7 separate regions of the Homo sapiens genome follow, and regions 1, 2, 3, 4, 5 and 7 are each linked to region 6. The links are contacts of gene promoters, found by promoter capture Hi-C in blood cells and fetal thymus (Javierre and others, 2016). All regions are on one chromosome and are shown on one strand. The core of a region is centred on a gene start or on the middle of the fragment in contact, and the rest is flanking DNA. Distances in the headings are between cores, read along the strand shown. Region 1 overlaps OXR1 (oxidation resistance 1). Region 2 overlaps OXR1 (oxidation resistance 1). Region 3 holds the start of SYBU (syntabulin). Region 4 overlaps ABRA (actin binding Rho activating protein). Region 5 overlaps OXR1 (oxidation resistance 1). Region 6 holds the start of EMC2 (ER membrane protein complex subunit 2). Region 7 overlaps OXR1 (oxidation resistance 1).

Region 1 (3,164 bases), core at 384-2,883, 1.8 Mb after region 6:
CCCATTAATGTTCCTTTTTACTGCCCCTTTTCCTCCATCTAGACCTTAAAGTTGGCTCTCTTCTAAGTGAAAAGATCCATGATATTAAAGAGCTATAGAGCCTTGCTATTTAAAAGTGTGTTCCAGGGACCAGCTGCATTGACATCACCCAGAAGCTTACTGTGAATGTAAGATCTGAGGCTCAGTCCGGACCTACAGATTTACTATTGATTTGCACGCACAACACATTTGAGAGACATACAAATAGAGCTTCTGAAGAGATCAAAGACCTGCAGACTGCGTAAGTGACAGAAGAAATGGGCTTCCCTACATAACTTCATATTTGTGACAGTTAACACCAGCAGTTTTCAAATCTGTCAAACTAATATAATGGTTTCTAAATTAGTCATGGTGATAGACTATATTATTGTTACTAAGCCTGTATTCCTTCCTGTTGAGGAATATAAAATATACCTCACCATCCTATTGATGTCAGACATGGCCAACTTGCTTTGCCCAATGAACCATATATGTCTTCCAGGTGGAAGTGTTTGGAGCCAAAATTGTACTTCTTAGCTCTCTTTTCTATCTCAAAACCAGAGATCTTCCATATAGTGGCTGCTCCATCAACATGTATTCCAGAAGAAAGGTGTAATTCCTAAAAGATTATTCCACATAGACACATGTGGGCACATGAGTCAGGCTATTCCCATTTCTACTCTTAGTTAAATTATTATGCTTGGGAGCTTAAAAAATTATTCAACAATTCATGCATAAAAAGCAAATCATCTACTAGGGGAAATGGAAAAGAATCTGGCTGGCTTGCATGAGACTTCTCTACTGAAACATTACTCAGTGCTATAAGACTGAAATTATGCCAATTGTATCAAAAACTCCAGAATCAAGGAGGACATTCTAAAAGGTTACTAGAGAATATAGAACAATAATAAGTTATAAAAAAGTGGTTGAAAAACTAAGTATGAATGTTACAAACATGGACAATGTAAAAATAGTAAAATGAGTAAATATTAGGATGTGAGGAGGAGAAAAATGAGAAATGAAACTGCTAATGTCATACCAAAGCATGGTTAAATATATCCCACCTAAAACTGAAACAAGATTGTAATAACAGTATCTGTAATTTTTTTTCTTTTTTTTTTTTTTAGAATTTGCTTAAATTTAGACACACCCCTTAGGAATTAACCTCTTGTGGTGAATAAGTATTATCTTTCATTCTGTCACTCCCTCCTTCTAACCACCCATCCATCCTTCTATATGTACATACACATAGAAGTGATGTACATTACTTGGCAGTAATGCCTACCCAAATATTAACAGTATCTCTGGGTGACTGGATTAGAGGTGATTTTTAAAGTTCAGTATTTGCAACATATGACTTATTTATATATAGTATATATCAGGTTTATTTTAAAAATTAATTTCGTATAAAAGACTGGAAGCAAATATTCCACAATATTAATGGCTCTTAATTGTGGCATGTGAAAAAAGAATGATCATAATTCCAGTAGTTTATTTATTCCACAAGGACCTTGCCACACAGTCATTTTATCTTCAGCATCTTTCTCTCAGCATACAAACATGTCTTCCTTTTAGGAACTTTTCATTGTAAGTCACCTCAACTTTCCTAAGGTCTCAATACTATCCAGAGGTTGGCAGAAAACTTAAACATGCATTTCTTTTATTAACTTGCATCATAAAATAGGTGCATGCCCCAAGTACTTGTAAAGAAAAATAAATAAATAATAACCTGCTAAATTCAGCAAGAGTTTGATTGAGAGAAATATCATTAAGGAAAACAGAATGATGTAGAGTCCTTCACATCCTAAGTCAGTGGTTTTTAACCCTAGTTACATATTAGAATTCCGTAAGAAACTGTAAGTGGAGATCTTAAACAGAGATTTCAAGATCAAATCTTTGATTATAATCAGATCTTGGCATCAAAATTTTTTCATGGCTACCCAGGGAATTCTAATGTGTACCCTGCATTGGGACTCATTGCTATCAATGCTGCCCAATAAAACTTTCTGCAATGGTAAAAATGTTTTATATCTGCCTTGTATAATATGGTAGCCACTAGCCATCTGTCTTGTGAGTACTTGAAATGTCTCTAGTGAGACTGAAAACTGAATTTAAAGTTTTACTTAATTAAATTAATTTACATTAAAATAGCTACATGTGCCTAGTCACAAAGATTATTTGCATAGCCAAATTTTAGTCAGGCTGCTGAACCTTCTCCTATGCCAATCTGTTCACTTCCTTATAAAACCGAGTTTCAGCAAGAATCATGTTAAGGTCAGTGTAGCAGGAACCCCCACCCCGATCCTGGATATCTGATTACCTTCCGTATCTGATCAGTTTTCTCATCCTCCACTGTCCAGGTGAAGTCTGATTACTCTGGCCTGCCTTCAGCAAGAATCCTGGTAGGTCAGTTTCACCATAATACCCCTTATTCCTGACGTTACCTCTTAGCAATTGTCCATCCATCTATCCTTACTCTACTCCTTGGCTAGAAATTCCCACTTGCCCATTTTGTATTTGGAGTTGAGCCCAATCTCTCTCCTCAACTACAAAATCTCATTGCCACAGTCCCTATCCCTATTGCAATGGTCCTGAATAAAGTCTGTCTTATTGTGCTTTAGGAAGTATTATCAAATAATTTTTCCTTTAACACTAGTTGCTACCATATTAGATAGAGCAAATACAGAATCCTGAATCCAATTTTCTCAATCCAGTTCCTCATTTGCATTAGCTGCAATTCAGATACTCAATAGCCATATTTGCCTAGTGGCTACCATACTGGCCATCACAGATACAGACCATTTTCATCACCTCAAAAAATTCTATTGAGTAGTACTCTCAAAAAAATCCAAAACAGAGAGTCGTAACTATCTAAAATCTATAGTTTAAAATGTAAAACCTACCTCTCAGTTAAGATGGACTGTTAGATAACTGCATATTTGGATTAATTGTTTTCCCCTTGTACAGAAGTGCTTTTACTAACTTGCAGTTTAGAGCTACACCATTGAACTACATTAAAGATTTAATGGGTTTAAAAAAATTAAAAATAGATTTTTGAAACTGAAGTCTGTACTTACCATAAAAATAAGCTTTTTGGTTTGTTTTGCTTTATTACAGAGTTCCATGAGTTTTTTTTTTGTTATATT
Region 2 (3,381 bases), core at 704-3,203, 1.8 Mb after region 6:
GAATGTATAATATGATGCTTGATTTGGTTTGTTGGTATTCTGTTGATTATTTTTTGTCTATATTCATAATAGATATTACATTGGTTTATACTTTTCTTCCCTTGTGATATCCTCGTCTGGCTTTGGTATTTGGGTAATACTGGCCTTTGACAATGAATTGAGAAGTATGCCATCCTTTTCACTTTTTTGGAAGAGTTTCTGAAGGATTGTTACTAATCATTCTTTAAATGTTTGGTAGAATTCACCATTGAAGCCATCTGGCTCTAGGCTTTTCTTTCTGGTAATATTTTAAATTACTATAATCATTTACCATATATATATATATATTTTTTTTTTTTTCTATTTCTCCTTGTGTCAGTCAGTTTTGGTAGTTTTGTCTTTCTAGGAATTTGTTCATTTAATGTAAGTCATCTAATTTGTTGTTCATAGTATTCCTTTATAATCCTGTTCATTTCTCTGATTTATATTAATATCAGCTCTTTTACTCCTAATTTTAGTAATTTGAGTCATCTCTGTTTTTTTCTTGCTCGATCTAAATCTTTGTCAATTTTGTTGCTCCTTGCAGAGAGCCAACTTGAGGTTTCATTAATGAGGTTTCTCTAATGTTTTTCTATTTCCTATTCCATTAATATCCATGCTAATCTTTATAATTTCCTTCTATTTGTTTTGTGTTTAGTATCTTCTATTTCCCCCCGCCGCCCCCCAACCTCCCTAGTTTCATAAGGCAGAAGGTTAGGCTATTGATTTGAAATCTTCTTTTTTTTTAATAATATAGGTTTTTACAGCTACATACCTCATTAGTTCTGTCCCACAAATTTTGGTATATTGTACTTTAGTTTTTATTTATCTCAAAGTAATTTTCCTTATGACTTATTATTTGACTCATTGGCTATTTAGGAGTATGTTGTTTAATTTCCACATGTTTGTGAATTTCCCAAATTTCTTTGTGTTTTTGACTTCTAACTTAATTTTACTGTAGTTAGAGAACATACTTGGTACAATTCCCCCATCCTTTCAAAATCATTGAGTTTTTTTATGGCCTAGTTTATAGTCTATCCTGGATAATATTCCATTTCCTTCATTTTTAAGGCCTTCCATTCATCACTGAATTTCTTGAAAATCCATATTTGCTGCCTCTCTTAAGCTCCTACCCAAGCTCACTCTCAGCAAATTGTCATCCATTCATTCAGCTTTAGTAAATGCCTACTCAGCACTAAGATAGAGAGTCCCTATTTCTATGGCACTTTCAAGCTGATGTTACACTCCCAAAGATCACCAGTGCCAGCACAAGATGTTTTTGTGCGATTAGAAAGAGATACCCCTGCAAATAGACACATTACAAAAAGGCATCTCTAATCCAAAAATGAAATTAAGAAAATAATTCCATTTATAGTAGCATCAAAAAGACAAAAATACTTAGAAATAAATCTATCCAAGGAGGAGCAAGACATTTACTGAAAAATACAAAACATAATTGAAAGAAGTTAAAGAAAATCTAAATAAATGGAAAGACATCCCATATACATGGACTAGAAAACTTAATATTGTTAAAATGGCAATTCAGAAATCAATATACAGATGCAATACACTCCCTATCAAAATTCCCCTGTTTTATTTACAGATATGGAAAATCCCATCCTCAAATTCATATAGAATTGCAAGGAACCCCAAAGAACCAACACAATATTTAAAAAGAAAAACAGAGTTGGGGGACTCATACTTCCCAATTTCAAAACTTTCTTCAAAGCTACAGTAATCAAAAACCGTAGTACTGGCGTAAGAATAGATGTACAGATTGATGAAATATAATTCAGGGTTCAGAAGTAAACACATACATTTAGGGAAAACAGACTGATTTTCAACAATGATGCCCAGGCCATTTAATGGGGAAAAATAGTGGCTTCAATAAATGGTGCAGTAACAACTCCATATTCACATACAAAAGAATGAGATTAAACCCTTACCTCACACCGTGGACAGAAATGAACTCAGAATAGATTAAAGACATAAGTGTATGACTTAAAACTATTAAATTCCTAGAAGAAAACATAAGGTGAATCTTCATGATCTTGGAATTGGCAGTGGACTCAGAGATTACACCAAAGGCATAAACAACAAATTTGCTTCATTACTAATAAGAGGAATGCAAATATCTGCCAATAAATACCATTTTCTTCTATCAGGATGGTGAAGATCAAAAAGTTTCAAGCCATTTTGCTAACAGTGGGTGGAAACTACCACTTTCATATATTACTAGTAGGGGAGCGAATAATGGTACTACCGTTTTGCAGGATCATCAAAGAGGGTCATTTTGCAGGATCTATCAACATTTTTAAAGCACACTCCTTTTGACTCAGTGTCCTCACTTCTTGATATTTATCCTACTGATGTATGAAATGATGCAATTTTCTATTTGCAATAGCAAAATGTTGAAAATAACCTAAGTGGTGACTAATAAGGAAATGATTAAATACAATATGACATGTCTATATAATGGAATATTATTCAGCCATTAAAAATAACTACACAGTTCCTGGTATAACTGATTATGAAAGAATCTTGAGAAAAGTATTTTTAAGGGGGAAAGGAAGATATAGAACACCACATGTCGTATGCTTCAATTTTTGAAAACAATGTGAAGTATGTGTAGTTATCCACATACAAATAAAACATTTCTGTTAGTATATATAAGAACCTAGTAATGGTGGTTGCTTTCTGAGAAAAGAAGTGGGTGGCTTAGGGTGTGATGAGAGAGAGCCTTAATTTTCACTGTGTGTATAATATGCATGTATCACCTATTCGAAAATGATTTTTTAAGTTAAAAAGGACCTGTTTCCCATAAGCCCATTCTATCTTGTAGGAGCTTGCTAGACTGTCCACTGCCAATCTGACTGTCATTCAGCTCCTATGAAAGGCATTTGAGATAGACTGCATTTCTCAATCATCAGTAAGAAAAATGTGATCTTTCTTAAGTTGTCTAAGAGTTACAGGCATATCAAGTTAGGTCATCTGCAGTCAGTATACCTAAGGCATGTCTCATCATTGAGAACATGGGCCCTTAGTCTAACTTCAGATCCTGGCTTTGCCACTTACTAGCAGCGTAATGGGAAAGTAACTGACTTAGCCTCTCTCTCCCTCAGGTTCCTTACCTGTAAAATAGAGATCATATAGAGATGTCGGGAAGATTTAATAACATCATGCAAGCAATATGCCTACAAGAGTGCCTGTAAAACATTAAGCCTTGGTAAATGTGAGCTATAATGCTTCCTATAAAATACCTTATCAAGTTATACCATTAGTGTTATATTCTGAATTTTATTGAAGTTCAACGCAAGAAATAATTGTGTGAGGAACTGATATTGAAGACATTATTCATTATGT
Region 3 (2,892 bases), core at 161-2,660, 1.2 Mb before region 6:
TGTCGCACTGCTTGGAATATTCTCCAATTCTGAATAAAGGGTATATAAGTCATTATACATGGTGAATTCCACCACCAGATAAGATTTAAGGGTAGCAATTGTAATAAATCAAGGCCCTTGGCCCAGCTGATGTACCCTATTCTAAGTCCCCAGTTGGACAGATTTTCGAGCTTTCTTAAACAAATTTGTGTGCATCACAAATGCTTTTTCTGCCTGTCATGTAAAAGGCATCAACAAATATTGACTGGATCATCTGGACCTGACTTAGCTGCCCTTTGGAAAGTTCTGTTCAATCAGCTGGATAGAGCTGTTTGTTTTCCTCACCTAACCCTCACAGCTATCCTAGAGGTAGGTATCACTATTATTATCCCTCAATTTAACAAGGGTAAATTTGAAGTTCAGAAGGGTCAAGAACCGTAGGCGTAGGCCACGCATGCAATGGCATCCGCATGTAATTCGAGCACTTTGAGAGGCCTGGACGGGATGATCCCTTGATCCCAGGAGTTAGAGGTTGCAGTGAGCCCTGATCGCGCCACTGTACTACAGCCTGGGCCACAGAACGAGATGCCGTTTCAACAGCAACGGAAAAAAAAAAAAACAAAAAACGAAACAACAACAAAAACTTTAGGCATAAAGGCACTCAGGCTGAAGGGACCGATTGGAGTGCTGGCTTGAACTCGTTTTTCTGAGTTCAATTCCAGTGCTCTTCCCTTAGCAGTGTGCTGGAGCTACTTCCTGGAGCCGGGCAGCTGCAGGGCAGCGCTGGGGAAAAGACTGTTCTCTGGCTACATAGCAGCCTGGCTTCTCCAAGCCGGAGGGAGCTGCGCTGACCACTGAAGGCCTTTCTGATGCAACCCCTTCCAAGTAGAATCCATCGCAGCCTTTCAGATCCCGGAACCCAGAGGCTGTGTCGGTCCTGACGCACTGGCTTGGCTGGGCTCCGGTACGAGAGGGATCTCTGCAGCTCTCGGGCGAGGCAGTTGTGGGGAGCTGTAGGCTGACTTAAGACCTGGAGGCCAAGGAGGGGTGGCCAGGGGAAAACTTTCTCTATTTTGTCTCTCTGTGATGTCGCAGCTTTTCTCAGTCACTCCATCCAACGCCACCCACTTCAAACCTGAGATCAAGTGCAAAAAAAAAAGAGGGTGGGGTCACCCCTGGGCTGGAGATGCCGCTAGCCGCAGCCTGCCTACACCGGGCCGAGCTCCTTGGAGAGGGAGGGACACCGGCTCTGGCTGGGGGGGCGCGGAGTGCCGTGGGGAAATCGGGCGGGTGGGGCGCGCCCAGGCGCGGTCGAGTTGCCCCGAAGGCCGCAGGTGAGGGAGGGCGTGGGAGGCGCCCCAGGAGCTGCCTCTAGCGAGTGCGGCACCACGTGTCCGGCCGGGGCGGGGTCGGGCGTGCCCTCGGAGCCCAGAGCAATCGGCGGCAGTGGCGGCGGCGGCGCGTTGGAGCCTCACCAAGAGCCGCCGCCCGCAGCCCGCGCCGGCTCAGCGCAGTCTCCTCGCTCCGTGCTCGCAGGTGCCTCCTCCTGGACGGCGGCAGCGGCGGCGCGAGGAGCCGGCGGGCAGCGGCGCGATGGGGCCCCTCCGCGAGAGCAAGGTAAGGAGCGCGGGGCAGTGCGGGCACTGGAGGGCGGGGAAGGCGGGCACTGCGGGGCGAGAAGCGGCGGGATGAGAGCTGGAGGGGTGACATTTAGAGTCTGGGGAAAGGTGGAAGGAGGTGGTGGTGGGGTCTGGAGAAGGCAGGAGGCATTGCTTAGGAGTTGAGATCCAGGAGATGGGGAGGTGGTACTGGAGGAATAGATTTTGGAGAATGACATGATTGGAGGGTTAATCCCACCTCCTGAAACTGGGACTGTGGGGTGTAGCTTTCAGTTGATATCCTGTGTGTGTGATGTGAATGAAAGGAATTTGATGCATCCGCGACTGGGAAAAGAGGACTCCCGCGTGTCAGTGACCCTGCCTTAGCTCAGGGTCTGCGGTGTGCCCGGCGGAGTGGCTGGCGCATGGTACCTGCTGGGCGGCAGATGTGCAGGGCGAATCCGAGGCTGCGTGCGGCTGGCGGCCCCCGGGTAGAGTGGATGCCTGAGGGCCCTCCGAAGTTCCCCATTGCTGAGGTTTACCCTTCAATTTATGCCATGTGCCGGCCTCCCAGAGGTGTTTATTTTGGCCGTGACCCTTCCTGGTAAGCCGGTGGAAGGAACAGTAGGTCATGTTTCGAAAGGGTGTTTGTTACCTAAGCCAAAGAGTCCCTTTCAGTGGCAGAGGTTGGAGGAAGCAGTGGAATTTTTGCAAAACGCTCCTCCTAGGAATCCATTTTCATAAGGCAGGGTGGTGGTGACCCTGCAAAGCACTGGATTTGAATTTCGTTCTACTTCTGGCATGGTGTGCAGAATTGCCTAAGCATCTCTACCCCATTTAGCCTGTTTCCTCATCTGAAAATAGGGACATTCATTGGTGTGCTCTCTATGTACAGTCTGGTGTGTAAAGATCAAATGAGAAAATGGTTGGAAAAGCACTTTATAAGTTGGAAAACATTGTGAAAATATTACTGTTACGCATTTTTAAAACCACGAAATGGCAGGGTACTTCATGCTGCGTTTTTAAGGAGAAAGAAAAATCTCTTCTTATGGATGTCCTGTAAGGAAAACAAAAATTAAAGATGATGTAAAAGGTGGAGCCATCTTCCCGAGTATCGGATTTGTGTTTGCTTTTCTGTTGGCAACAAGCCTTGTGTACCAGGATATTAACGAATAATTAAGATCCTGTCCAGAAGAGGAGGGATTTTAAAGATAATTGTGTGTGAGCTATCAGGAAATAACTGTTCCAGGTATAGGGTTCAACTTTGTGAGGAGACAAGAAAACAAGTCAGACTGTCACAGCTAATTTAGGGAAA
Region 4 (3,355 bases), core at 282-2,781, 1.7 Mb after region 6:
GGTGTGTGCTGTTCCCCTCCCTGTGTCCATGTGTTCTCATAGATCAGCTCCCACTTACAGGTGAGAACATGTGGTGTTTGGTTTTCTGTTCCTGTGTTAGTTTGCTGCCCCATCCTAATATTAGGCTGGCATCCTCACGATACTACTAGTCTACACTTTCCAGAGTTGGTTTTTTAATAGAAAATGCATTCTGAATTCCAAAGATATACACATTTAAAACGCAACTTATTCCTTTATTAGACACTGTATGGGCCTGCTGAGTGGCATCACTACATAGTAGAAAGAGCATTGACCTTGGTCTAAGGCAGTCTTGCGTTTGAATCCTGCAACGTCACCTATTTAGGGCAGTATTTCACAGTTATAGACAGGCTCTGGAGCCAGCTTAACTTTGGTTCAAAGTCTAGTTCTACCACTTAACAGTTTTGTGACTTTAAGAAGTTACTTCATCTCTCTGGCCTCAGTTTCCTCATTTGTGAAGTAGGAATAGTAGTACCTATCTCAGGAAATGGTTGTGGGGAATATTAATAAAGCATTTAGAAGAATGCCAGTACATAGTGTTCAGTAAATGTTACTATTGCTAGCTAGTGTTTTCTATCTGTACAACTTCATATTTCGAAGTTTGTGGCATCATTGATACTAGTCTATATATGCTCTCACTGAAAAATCCACATATAAAAATCTATATATGATTAAATATTAAACTGCATGTGTAGTGGTAGAGTCCTTACCTTTGGGAAATAATTGGTTTCAGAGGTCCTCTAAGAACTAGATTCCTGAAAACACCTACATGATTTCAGTTCTAAAATGTTACCAATACTCAACTTAAAGATATACACATTTGCATTAACTTTGTGTGGGGAAGCTTTTTTCTTAAAATAGATTTTAATATCATTATAATGCTTAAAATCGTTATTCATAGAGAAAACAATCTAGAAGGATATGCACCAAACTAAGAACAACGGTGGGACTATGTATGATTTTTCTTCTTTCATTTCTAATTTTTTATATTGTGTTTATTTTTGTAGTGAAAAAATTATACTTACATTAAAGATGCATATGTGTGGGAAGTACAAAGGGAAAACAACACTCGGTGTTAACATATCTGAATCTTGATTGTTCACCCTCTCTCTACTTTAGGGTAAACAGATTTACAGAGAAACTCAACTGCAAAGCCCAACAGAAATATAGCCCAGTGGGCAACTTGAAAGGGAGATGGCAGCAGTGGGCTGATGAACACATACAATCCCAGAAGCTCAATCCTTTCAGTGAAGAGTTTGATTACGAGCTGGCCATGTCCACCCGCCTACACAAAGGAGATGAGGGCTATGGCCGCCCCAAAGAAGGAACCAAAACTGCTGAAAGGGCCAAGCGTGCTGAGGAGCACATCTACAGGGAAATGATGGACATGTGCTTCATTATCTGCACAATGGCTCGCCACAGACGAGATGGCAAGATCCAGGTTACTTTTGGAGATCTCTTTGACAGATACGTTCGTATTTCAGATAAAGTAGTGGGCATTCTCATGCGTGCCAGGAAACATGGACTGGTAGACTTTGAAGGAGAGATGCTATGGCAAGGCCGAGATGACCATGTTGTGATTACGCTACTCAAGTGAACCTTCAAAAACAAAAGCCAAATTTGGCCCACTATGGTCTTAATGCTAAATGCTCATGTAGGTAAAATGAAAATGCAAACTCTCTGTAATAAGTTAGTAAATATTAAACAATTTTTACATAAACGACTTTCTGGCATTCTATTTCTATCTAGAATGAGGAATTTTGGAGATTTTGAGAAGGCACAAAGCATTTCAGAAAGCACATAGAATGTTAATGTATAATAATAGTATTAATAGTTGAAATTCCACAGGGTGTTTTTGTTTTTGTTTTGAGACAGATTCTCTTTATGTCACCAAAGCTGGTCTTTTAACTCCTGGCCTCAAGTGATCCTCTCACCTCAGCCTCCCAAGTAGCTGGGATTATAGGCATGAGCAACAGCACCCAGCCACTTGTATATTTTAGGCAAAATATTTAGCTAGTCATTGTAGAAACTACTATAGATTTTTAATTAAACATTACATCTAAGAAGAATGCTGACTTGAGATAAATATCAGTAGAACATATAATAATGTGTCTTTATTTGGAAAAAAGAAAATACCATTAAGTTTGGTAAAACTAAACTTAAAATTTTTTCAGAAGCTTGACTTTGTATTATTGTTTATATCATAGCATCACTTACAAAACAAGCACATATATAAAAAGTTGTCAAGATGTTGCTGAAATTGTTGAAGTTCCTCTGTGGGCTTGGATTCTAACAGGTTTCCAGTAAGAGTTCACCTTCCTCTTGTTTGATTTCAGCAAATCACATAAAAACAGACACTTCCTGTCTTAGTACCAACAAAGGAAGGCACACCCTCACTAAAAGTAGAGCAGAGGTGAGAGATTCAGATTTACTTGCCTTTGTAGGACTTCTTGGAGAAGTTTATTGTTTCATTACATGTCAGCATATAACGAGTCAAGCTGCTTGCATTAACATCAATGCAATGATATGTATTTCTCCAACAATGGAGAAATACAGAAAATCTATGAAGTGGAATGTTCAGTATTAGAAAAATCCCATAGAATCATTGGTGAATTAAAAACAGATTTGAGACAGTTTAATGTTCCTCATACTGTAACAAAGAAAACTTTATGAAATGTTTAAGTCATAAAACTGCAATATTAGTTCTGCCAAAGTAAAAAATATACAATGATGATGGCAAGGAGAAAATCATTGGACATTAATGTGCCTATGTGATCTTAAAAACAAATGGAATGGAATGTGAGATTGCAATTCTTACTGGATTCAATGAAATTACTAAAATGCATTGATAGTATAGCACTTTGGTGTTAAATGTAAAAATTAATGTCTAAATATGATACCTCAAAATAATAGGTATTAGACTGCTATAAGAATTATATTTGTTTTCATGTATGAGTCTCTTTCAAACTGAAGGTTCTGGTATCTTAAGAAAGTATGCGTATTTTGTTTCCATACCGTATTTATAAAGCTATAAGTTAATGACCAATATTTCTAAGTAGGATTTCATGTAAGATGCACACTTCTATTACAAGTGAAACCTACGCCAAATGTTAAAGACAAATAGCATAAGAATAAAAGATGTTTTCTTGTATTTTCTGTTCTTGTTTTTATAGTATTTATAAGTTATATTCCACATACACTTTCTTCTGTTTGAAATACAATAAAATTATAGTGTGCAACTTAGGTTACTTATAGTATCAGTAGAATATGTATTAATAGATGAAGGTTTCAAGAGTCTCCTCATATTCAATTCTGAATAATATTAAGTTATGCAGGC
Region 5 (2,995 bases), core at 488-2,987, 1.7 Mb after region 6:
TTCTGTTGGTTGCCTATTCAATATCCACCCTTACAACTCCTTCCTGAAGTGGCCTTGATTTTGCTCAGGTATCCTTCCAGCCATGTGTTTCTGAGGAGGCTGGCTCTCATCTCTGGACAGAACTAGTCATTAGAGACCTAAATCAGTGGCTTTCAAGTTTTAGCCGGCATCAATATCACCTGGAGTATTTGTTATACCAGAATGCTGGGCTCCAAAAATGGTTTCTAATTAATCAGACTCAAATGGGGTCTGAGAATTTGCATTTCTAACAAATTCCCAGGTGCTGCTGCTGCTGATGGTCTGGGAACTACACTTCGAGAAACAACAGGTTTAAGCTATTCTGAGTGTGGTTTTCTGTTTCTCGAAGTCATCCAAATTTATAAATACAGTGTCAGGCAAACATAAAATGAGCTCAGTAAGTCTCCTTCTTGCCCTTTCTGTTTTTGTAGTATTTATAATACATATTGCTAAGTCATTTAAATTTGCCTAGATATCCAAGAATTTGAAGCAGATGTCAATTGTTATTATTATAACATGATGGGATATAAAACAAAGCACTTTTGAAAACACTACCAGTTTACAAGTTGAACATAATCTGTTCTCATAATTCAGATATTCAATTTAATAATCCTTTTCCTTTACTTTATTCGAACTGAAGTTATTAAATTACCTTATATCTCTTCCTATTTGAGTTGGGAATGGTATGATAGAAGCTATAATATATAATTTACCCTACTCACTATTTATTATTTTATGCCAGGTGAGGTGGCTGTAATCCCAGTGCTTTGGGAGGCTGAGGCAGGAGGATTACTTGAGCCTAGAAGATTGAGACCAGCGTGGGCAACACAGCAAGACTCTATCTCTAAAAAAAAAAAATTAGCTGGATGAGGTGGCACATACCTGTAGTCCCATCTACTGAGGAGGATGAGGCAGGAGGACCTCTTGAGCCCAGGAGTTCGAGGATGCAGTGAGCTGTGAGTGTGCCATTGCATTCCAGCCTGGGCAACACAGCAAGACCCTTTCTCAAAAAATAATAATAAATTTAAAAATAAAGTAATATTTTAGAATTTTAATATTTAAAATCATAAACTAGTCTGTCACCCATAAATCCTCTTCTGACAGTCTATATTAGAGGTTTTTTGTTTGTTTGTTTTTTGTTTTGAGATGGAGTATTGCTCTGTTGCCCAGGCTGGAGTACAATGACATGATCTCTGCTCACTGTAACCTCCGCCTCCTGGGTTCAAGTGATTATCCTGCCTCAGAGTCCTGAGTAGCTGGGATCACAGGTGTGCGCCACCACGCCCGGCTAATTTTTGTATTTTTTTTTTTTTTTTTGAGACAGAGGCTTGCTCTGTCGCCCAGGCTGGAGTGCAGTGGCACGATCTCGGCTCACTGCAAGGTTCGCCTCCTGGGTTCATGCCATTCTCCTGCCTCAGCCTCCTGAGTAGCTGGGACTACAGGCATCCACCACCACACCTGGCTATTGTATTTTATTTTATATTTTTAGTAGAGACGGGGTTTCACCGTGTTAGCGAGGATGGTCTCGATCTCCTGACCTCATGATCCACCTGCCTCGGCCTCCCAAAGTGCTGGGATTACACGCATGAGCCACCGCACCTGGCCTAATTTTTGTATTTTTAATAGAGATGGGATTTCACCATATTGGCCAGGCTGGTCTCGAACTCCTGACCTCAGGTAATCTGCTTGCCTTGACCTCCCAAAATGCTGGGATTACAGGTGTGAGCCACCACGCCTGGCCTAGATAAAGATTTTTAATGGAAATGTTATAGCTCATAACTTTGGGCTAGCAATTGAAGAATATTTTTAACAGGGAAAGCAAAACACTAGTTCAAAACTCTCCTAAGGTCGATAACAACTTTAAGATAACATAATCAGTAGTCAAAACAGACCATATTAGGCATAAAACCTGGGTGCCAAATGCTAATAAAAGAAAACATAAACAGTCTAAAAGTTTCATTTGTAACTATACAGGTTCTCAACATAGAAATATAGTCATATATCACATAATGACAGGGATATGTTCTGAGAAATGCATCTTTAAGCAATTTCGTTTTGTGAACATCACAGTGTGTACTTACACAAACCTAAATGGAATAGCCTACCATATAACCAGGTTATACGGTATGGCCTATTACTTCTAGGTCATACCATATAGCACGTTACTGTACTGAATACTATAGGTGACTGTAACACAGTGATAAGGATTTGTGTATCAAAATATATCTAAACATAGAGAGGGTAATGCATTGTACTATGATGTTATGACATCACTAAGAGACAGCTCCATTATAATCTCAGGGGACCAACCAAAATGTCATTATGTGCTGCATGACCGTATTATGAAAGTCAGTACCTATCAACTAATAAATTCTAATTAAGTGTTTAATCCTTCTGATTTCTTTTTTAGATTTATTAAATTTCTTCTGGAGTTATAATTTGTAATATTATTTGATTATTCGATCAGTATTAAAAAAAAAGAATACTTAAAAAAATTCCCTTTATCTGAGAAATGTGATTTCTCAATGTAGTGACTTTATACACAAAGAATTCCTTCACTTTTGGACAAAATTAATTCTATGTGGATTTTGCTGGCTAGACTGAGAAGAGATCATGAGGGTTTTGTGCGTTTAACATATTAACTCAGTTTTAATTTTGGTGTTACTTGTACCTTAATAATAATAGAAAACATATGTTTAATAAAATGATCACCAGAATACTCACTGCCTGTCAGCTTAGGAAATAAGATATTAACCAAACAAGGGAAGTCTCCTGATAAGGTGTTTCTTAAAAGTTGCAGCAATAACCACGGTTGTAGAAGTTTTCTGGGAAACCTAATGAATGATCCTGACCATAACTCTACTTAATGATAGCTGTGAAAACAGAACTGGCTCCACAAGGCAATCACCACATAGTAGTGAAAAACCAAATCCAACAATGACATAATGTGATAAATGTTATGGCCTACAATGCTAAG
Region 6 (3,095 bases), core at 481-2,980:
GCTCAAGATAAAGCTGGAGACATGGGCAACCGCCAGATCATACAGAGGAAGGACATAATCATATTAGCACTAGCTAATAGTAACACATCCTTTTATATAGTACTTAACAGTTTACAAAGCACTTTAAAATGTTTTCTTTGTTCCTACAAATTTGTGTAGTAGTTATTATTTATTATTCCAAATTAATTACATCAATCCTCTTTAGAATGACCACAGGGTAAGGTCCAATTACTCAGTTAAATCACCTTGTCTGTTGGTAGTATACAGCTACTCGTCCCTCAGGATTTTATATATGCTACTATCATCTAGGAAACCTATAATGAACATACCTTCATAATAGCATTTTCTAAAAATTATGTAATATTTAAAACATTTTTTAAAAAGCATTAAAAATAACATCCATTTATCTACGACTCAGCTTACGGAAGATACCCTGACACAAGCCTTTTAAAACTGTGTGTTTACAGGTTTGTTTTCTCCATTAGATTGTGACTTCCTTGGAAGTGGGGACTGTGTGTTGACAGAGCCAAGATTTTGCAGTAAGAAATCAACACTGTTGTTTAATATAATGGAATCCCTCAATTCAGGTATAAATACTGAGATTCACAACGTGCTAGAGGCCATAAAGTCAATAAATCATTTAATTCAGTTCAAGTACAAAGAAATTTTGCTTTATTTGTAACGGATTTACAACTTTATAATAACTGATATATTTATTCACGATAAAACAGAAAATACAACTTTCGGTCCACATGTTTTCAGGTCATTATTAAAACATCCCAAGAAGGCATTCGTTAAGCAAATTAGCTACTGAAGTCTCCTGTATTATGTTAAATGCTGGGAATATGAATTCCAATTACACAAATTCCACGCCTTAATGAAACTCAAGTTTCTTAAGCACACAGAATTGATCCAAGGTTTGGCTGTTCCCAGATTTAAAGAACATATCCCACTCTAGATCAACTAAGGATAGGGAAAAGTGACCATCACACGTAAGCACTTACGTAGCCCAGAGTTAATTAGTTATTTTTCCCTTCAGAAAAGAAACTACTAGTAGGGAGTAAGAAAGAAGTTGTGTTGTGTGTGTAAATGTGTTTTGAGAAGGAGTGGGACAGAGACTAGACTAAAAGGAAAAGAAACTGGAAACCCGGGTTTAAGAAGAAAACTAAATGTAGAGTGGCATATGAGAATCACATTTGTTCACGCATCTTTTACACAGCTTTTCTGCACAGAGCTGTAATCCTTACACACCACTTAGTAAAGGGCCTTACAGGCCCTGTGTTTCTTGGCTCCAAAGAAGCTTCAGTAACCACCTATTCCGCCTCTTCCGCACCGCCCAGCAACCAGTTAGCGTGCGACAACCCCAGCCCCAAGTCCCTCCCGCCCGCCTCATAAATAAAAGCGGCCCCGGGACGCTGGACTGGCGCGGAGGAGGGCAGGTCAACCGAGGAGCAGACACCGTGGGAAACGCTGCAGAGTACGCGTCCGGGCCAAGGGAAGGGTCAGCCTCAGCCTCCACCTCAGCTTGGCCCGTACAGTGAGGGCTCTGGTACCAAAAAGACACCAGAGAACCCAGCTCCCCGAAAGCAGCGGGTACTCCCGAACGGCTTCCCAGCGCTTTTAGTCTTTCCGCACCCGCCCCCACCCGAAGTTACCTTCCCAAGTGACATCGTAAAGCTCTGAGACCTTCGCCATCTTCCCAGAACCTAGAGGCAGCGGGGTGAGAGGGCGGGGAGACGCAGTCACGTGACCCGCCACCGGGCGGTGGAGAGTTACGTAGCTTTTTCTCATTGGCCAAGAGAGCAGAGGGGGCGGTATCCGCCACGCACGTGCACGCGGCTCTGCGGAGGGGCTTTCGGGGAAGGGGGCGGAGCGAGCTGGGCGGAGCGAGCTGGACGGTGGACGGAGCTAGGTGGGCGGTGCGTGGCGCTCCCGCAATCTCAGGATACCCTGGCTGCTGGCGGGGCTACGGTGCTGGCTCGGGGTGAGGTGTGTGTGTGTGTTGACGTGGATTTTTAACAAATGCTGGGTTTTTAGTGTCCGTCAATCCTGGCTTTTCAGTTTTTTCTACCTAGGCTTGTTCATTCTCTTCACACTCCCTTAAGTACCCTTATTCTCTTCATGGCCGGCCGCAGTGCAGCCTTCTGCACGAATCCCTTATTTGTCCCCAACTTTCCTCCTTCCGTAATGGGATTTGCTTTCCGTTCACTTTTTAATCGACTAAACGGATAAACTCCAAAGTTTTGAGAGACTAAGTGGGATTCTTCCTTTGCGCTCTGAAGTTCCCTTGAATGCCCTCGCGCTAGCTTATACCCTTCATTAACGCTCGTCGTGCCTGTCATTGCTTCATCCATGTCTGCATGCCACACTAGGTTTCAAACTGTCGCGAGTATGTAAGTACTTATAAGGAATGAATGTACGAATGAGACCTTCACAGTTCCTGAACTTCGCTCCTCATTACTCCTGGGTGGATGGGGGAGCCTCCTTTCCCACCAGACTAATTGCTTTTAGGAAACTTTGGACGTCATCTCCTAGACTTAAGGAGAAATGTCTGGACAGGAAGTAAAAAATTTGAGGATGATAAGCGTATATTTAGTATTTGAAGCAATGGGGACATGAGATTGTAGAGGAAATATGTAAGCTGAGAAAAAACTAAAAATCACTGCAATGCAGCCGAAAGTTATTGGTCAGTAAAGAAGGGGCAGTTGATTTGAGAAGTAGAAATAATACTATCCCACAAGTCAAAAGAGTGGAGGGTTTTTTTTCTCAGCTTTATTGAGGTGTAATGGACAAAAATTGTGTATATTTAAGGTATACAAAGTAATGATTAGATGTAAATATACACTGTGAAATGATTACCACAAGCAAGCTAATTAACACATCTATCACCGTACATATTTCCTGTGTGTGTGTGTGTGTGTGTGTGTTGAGAACACTTAAAAATCTCTCAGCAAACTTCAAAGTATACAATACAGAATTATAACTGTAGTCACCATGCTGTACATTCGATCTCCAGAACATATTCATCTTACAACCAAAAGTTTGTACTATTTGACCAACATCTCTCCATTCCTCACCTGTCGGCTCCAGTCAAC
Region 7 (3,183 bases), core at 345-2,844, 1.7 Mb after region 6:
TCTAATTCAATATTATGTTTGTGACATTCATTTATGCCATGGCATGTAGCAGCAGTTCATTCATTTTCATTGGTGCAAATACTTTTTCTTGGGTATGTAACCTTGGGCAAGTTGATGAGCTTATGTCATAGTTGACTCATTCTTTAATATAAAGATAACAGTATCAATCTCATAGGGCTTTCATGATTAAATAACATAATGCATAAGTGATTAGTCAAGTTCCTGACACATAAAACACTAAAAGTGTTAGTAATACCAGTGTTTTGTTCTAATATTGCTATTTTACCTTCTCATTAGTTTCCAATTACAACTGACTTGAACTTGCTGTTTGAAGAACAAACCAATATTACTCTTATTTGTGCTTTTGTTCTGGCTATCACCTTCAAACAATTATCTTTAATCAAAACTTCACCCATTATTCAAGATTCTGTCAATTTCTACCTTTCCCATGAACCTCATTCTTATTTCCTCACTTTTTCTAGGTTCTAAGAAACCTACCATTTTCCCCACCATTAGAGATGTTGGTATGTGCAAATGTTCTTTTCTACCACTCTATAATCCCTTTGAAGGCAGTAATTCTTAATCATCATGCTCATATCTATCCTCTGTAATACTCAACATTGCCTTGCATATTAAAAGTACCCAGTAATTATCAGTTAAACAATAAAATGCACTAATAAAGTAATGTTTATCAAATAAATATGCTAAAAGTTACTGTTACTGCTCTTAAAGGATAAGCAATCTATGCAGTTGGTGTTTCATACCTGTCCATCACTGTCTTTAATCACCATCAGCACTGGGGTGTCTAAACCTGTCATTGTTCGATAAAGAGTTTTCAAGCTTGTGCCATGTTTTCCAGTACCATAAACAAGAGTCCATGGATAGCCAATTGTTCTTGGTGGAAGATGCTTGGTAAGCTTTAGAAAACAAAGTGTTAGTATTTACTTGATAGCTTGTTGTTCATTATGTAGAATACTAATGCCAGCTGGAATGTAATGGTGCCTATATAATATAGGCTATAAAAATAAATTAACAGTAGAAATTATTATTCTCAAAGATACTAAGATGATTGAAAAGTATTACACATTTCTCAGAATAAAATATTAATTGTCTATTAGGAAAATAAAGAATCACCCTGAACCAGACACAGATTAGAACAGAGATAAGAAACATAGATTACTTAATGCTTTTGCCTTCCATATTGAATTAACAAAAATACTTGATAGACTATTAGCTTGATTATTAAAATATCTCTTAAATAATAGGCTAGGGAGACAGACTATCCAAGTTAGGAATCAAGCTTTAATACTTCTCCCTGTGTGACCTTGAACAAGTTAATCGCTCTGTGCTCCCGATTTTTTAACTTAATAAAAAATGTGCATAATAAGAGCATCCAATTTCTACAGCTGTTGTAACAACTACATGAAATAATCCACATAAAGCAAGTAACAAGCACACAACAATAAAACAAATATTGGCTTTTAGTGTCTGCTTACCTAAATCTCCTAACATCTTAATTAACACTAGTTGCTATGTTTTGCTTACTCTTTCTTTTCACTGGAGTGGAATAGTAATAGCATTAACGCTGTTGCTTCAGAAACAACTAAAAAGAGGCTGTTTTACTCTCATGGGTACACACTCACACTCAGAAATGCACATATGTGAGCATGTCATACCTTTTCAATTTGATCTGGCAGTAAAAGTTCACTGGGATCACTTAGGTTTGGTCGAAAAGATTCAGACTCCAGGTCTGCTTTCACTGTAGCAACCTGCTTTGAATTTATGTCTTCCCTTGTAGTAATCTAAAACAGTAAATAGAGGTAGTGCATTAATGTAAACTTGTGACATGCTTTCAAAATTGTCAGACTTTTCAGATAAATAAAGCTTTATATCGTAGAAAATGTGGCTAAATCTTTAACCTTAAGATTTTATAGGGCAAAAGATGGCCCATATCTAATATCTATGATGTAGCCAATGTAGGAAAAGATTTTATAACAATATAAGCAGACGTTTTCTCATCCACTACATGAGGAACGACTGGTAGGAATGATAAATCCCCATATTTCTGTGTAAAGAAGATAGTTGCATGCATCTTTAATTAAGCCCTTGAAGGGCAAAAGTCAGCTAGCTGGCTTGCGCTGTGTGTGTGTGTGTGTGTGTGTGTGTGTGTGTGTGTGTGTGTGTATGCTATTTAAAATAGAATTCTTTCATGCTAACACAAAATTTGTCAAAAATAATGAACAAAACTTCCTGGGTGCCAAAATTTTAATGTAAAGAATAGTAGAATAAAAAAAAATAACTATTTTCTGTGAGTTGTGCATGTATTTGTTTCACTGACAAACGTTACCATTTTTTTAAATGCTTTCTTTTTATAACTTTCTAAACATTTAATTTTTTTCATCTACTTGGACCAAACAATAAATTTTACTGTTAATTTGTTCATAAATTTATTTTTTAAATTAGATTAATGTGTTGCATTACAAAGAATACATGCTTTTTTGCTTGGTGGAAATGATTTCACTGGTATTCTTAAAACGATAAGAATGTTAACTAAGTAAAAATAAAGCTTACTACTGCACAATATATTCTATTGGTGCTTACTTTTTAATATTAATTTTATTTTAATATATAAAACATAATAATATTAGAAAATAAAAGAAATGAAACATTATGAAACTTTTAAATTGGAAAATATGCAGAATTCTATTGGAGCAGATAACTAAAATGCAGCAACGCTCAGCAACTGTGATTCTATATGGGAATGAAATTCTTGCTAAATTATTTTGTTCCTTTAACAGGTTTCTTAACAAACCTGAGCAGCATATATTTGCAACCAATACATGTTCTATAAGTGTATTGTTTTTTGACAAGAAGCTAAATACTCATTCTTTCATATCATCATGTTTCACCCTTATTTTGATGATGTGAAAGGTAAAAAGAAAAAGAAAAAGAAACCCAAGGCAGCATTAGAAGCATTAAAAGAAAAAATTCAGGTCTAGCAGAGCCATGAAAGCATATCTTATTAAGAAGAAAGAAACACAGTATAATAGACACAACTTAAAAATGAGTTTTCAATTACATTGCTTTCTTGTTTCTAAAAAAAAAATCACAAAGATTATTTCACAGAATTTTAAGTAATTTATCCAGTTCTGTGTCTAAACTGTACTATTCCAATGTACTCCT

What was found. Contacts are between HindIII fragments. The CHiCAGO score rates a contact against its expected background, and 5 or more counts as called.
Region 1: a contact is called between a fragment that was not itself captured here and the fragment with the promoter of EMC2 in region 6, in 6 of 17 cell types (activated CD4 T cells, naive CD4 T cells, total B cells and 3 more). The highest score is 8.2, in activated CD4 T cells.
Region 2: a fragment that was not itself captured here is called in contact with the fragment with the promoter of EMC2 in region 6 in 2 of 17 cell types (total CD4 T cells and non-activated CD4 T cells); the score reaches 7.3 in total CD4 T cells.
Region 3: a contact is called between the fragment with the promoter of SYBU here and the fragment with the promoter of EMC2 in region 6, in 2 of 17 cell types (total B cells and naive CD8 T cells). The highest score is 8.6, in total B cells.
Region 4: a contact is called between a fragment that was not itself captured here and the fragment with the promoter of EMC2 in region 6, in 1 of 17 cell types (naive CD4 T cells). The highest score is 7.7, in naive CD4 T cells.
Region 5: a fragment that was not itself captured here is called in contact with the fragment with the promoter of EMC2 in region 6 in 1 of 17 cell types (fetal thymus); the score reaches 6.8 in fetal thymus.
Region 7: a fragment that was not itself captured here is called in contact with the fragment with the promoter of EMC2 in region 6 in 1 of 17 cell types (activated CD4 T cells); the score reaches 5.1 in activated CD4 T cells.

Annotation. Positions count from the first base shown.
Region 1 is chr8:106,665,946-106,669,109 of GRCh38, reverse strand. All of the region lies in intron 3 of OXR1 (oxidation resistance 1), which reads right to left. Among named protein-coding and RNA genes, the nearest start is that of OXR1-AS1, 9.8 kb to the right of the region's middle. The HindIII fragment of the contact is 2,952 bases long and covers 158-3,109 here.
Region 2 is chr8:106,650,030-106,653,410 of GRCh38, reverse strand. The region is part of intron 3 of OXR1 (oxidation resistance 1); the gene reads right to left. The region is part of intron 1 of OXR1-AS1 (OXR1 antisense RNA 1); the gene reads left to right. Among named protein-coding and RNA genes, the nearest start is that of OXR1-AS1, 6.0 kb to the left of the region's middle. The HindIII fragment of the contact is 7,815 bases long and covers 1-3,381 here.
Region 3 is chr8:109,643,340-109,646,231 of GRCh38, reverse strand. SYBU (syntabulin) reads left to right here and starts at 1,410. Exons shown (of 7, transcript NM_001099754.2): 1 at 1,410-1,596. The coding sequence starts at 1,573. It overlaps SYBU-AS1 (SYBU antisense RNA 1), which reads right to left and starts at 2,103. Exons shown (of 2, transcript NR_161375.1): 1 at 2,010-2,103; 2 at 1-1,114. RefSeq lists enhancers at 726-1,045, 707-1,643 and a silencer at 1,156-1,645. The HindIII fragment of the contact is 4,274 bases long and covers 1-2,892 here.
Region 4 is chr8:106,759,297-106,762,651 of GRCh38, reverse strand. ABRA (actin binding Rho activating protein) reads left to right here. Exons shown (of 2, transcript NM_139166.5): 2 at 1,138-3,169. The coding sequence ends at 1,615. Among named protein-coding and RNA genes, the nearest start is that of ABRA, 9.3 kb to the left of the region's middle. The HindIII fragment of the contact is 1,333 bases long and covers 865-2,197 here.
Region 5 is chr8:106,721,838-106,724,832 of GRCh38, reverse strand. All of the region lies in intron 11 of OXR1 (oxidation resistance 1), which reads right to left. Among named protein-coding and RNA genes, the nearest start is that of ABRA, 47 kb to the left of the region's middle. The HindIII fragment of the contact is 3,703 bases long and covers 1-2,995 here.
Region 6 is chr8:108,442,259-108,445,353 of GRCh38, reverse strand. EMC2 (ER membrane protein complex subunit 2) reads right to left here and starts at 1,730. Exons shown (of 11, transcript NM_014673.5): 1 at 1,656-1,730. The coding sequence starts at 1,695. It overlaps LOC105375704 (a long non-coding RNA gene), which reads left to right and starts at 1,882. Exons shown (of 3, transcript XR_928530.4): 1 at 1,882-1,984. RefSeq lists a silencer at 1,777-1,896. The HindIII fragment of the contact is 5,303 bases long and covers 1,303-3,095 here.
Region 7 is chr8:106,738,077-106,741,259 of GRCh38, reverse strand. OXR1 (oxidation resistance 1) reads right to left here. Exons shown (of 17, transcript NM_001198533.2): 13 at 1,677-1,802; 14 at 765-917. Among named protein-coding and RNA genes, the nearest start is that of ABRA, 31 kb to the left of the region's middle. The HindIII fragment of the contact is 584 bases long and covers 1,303-1,886 here.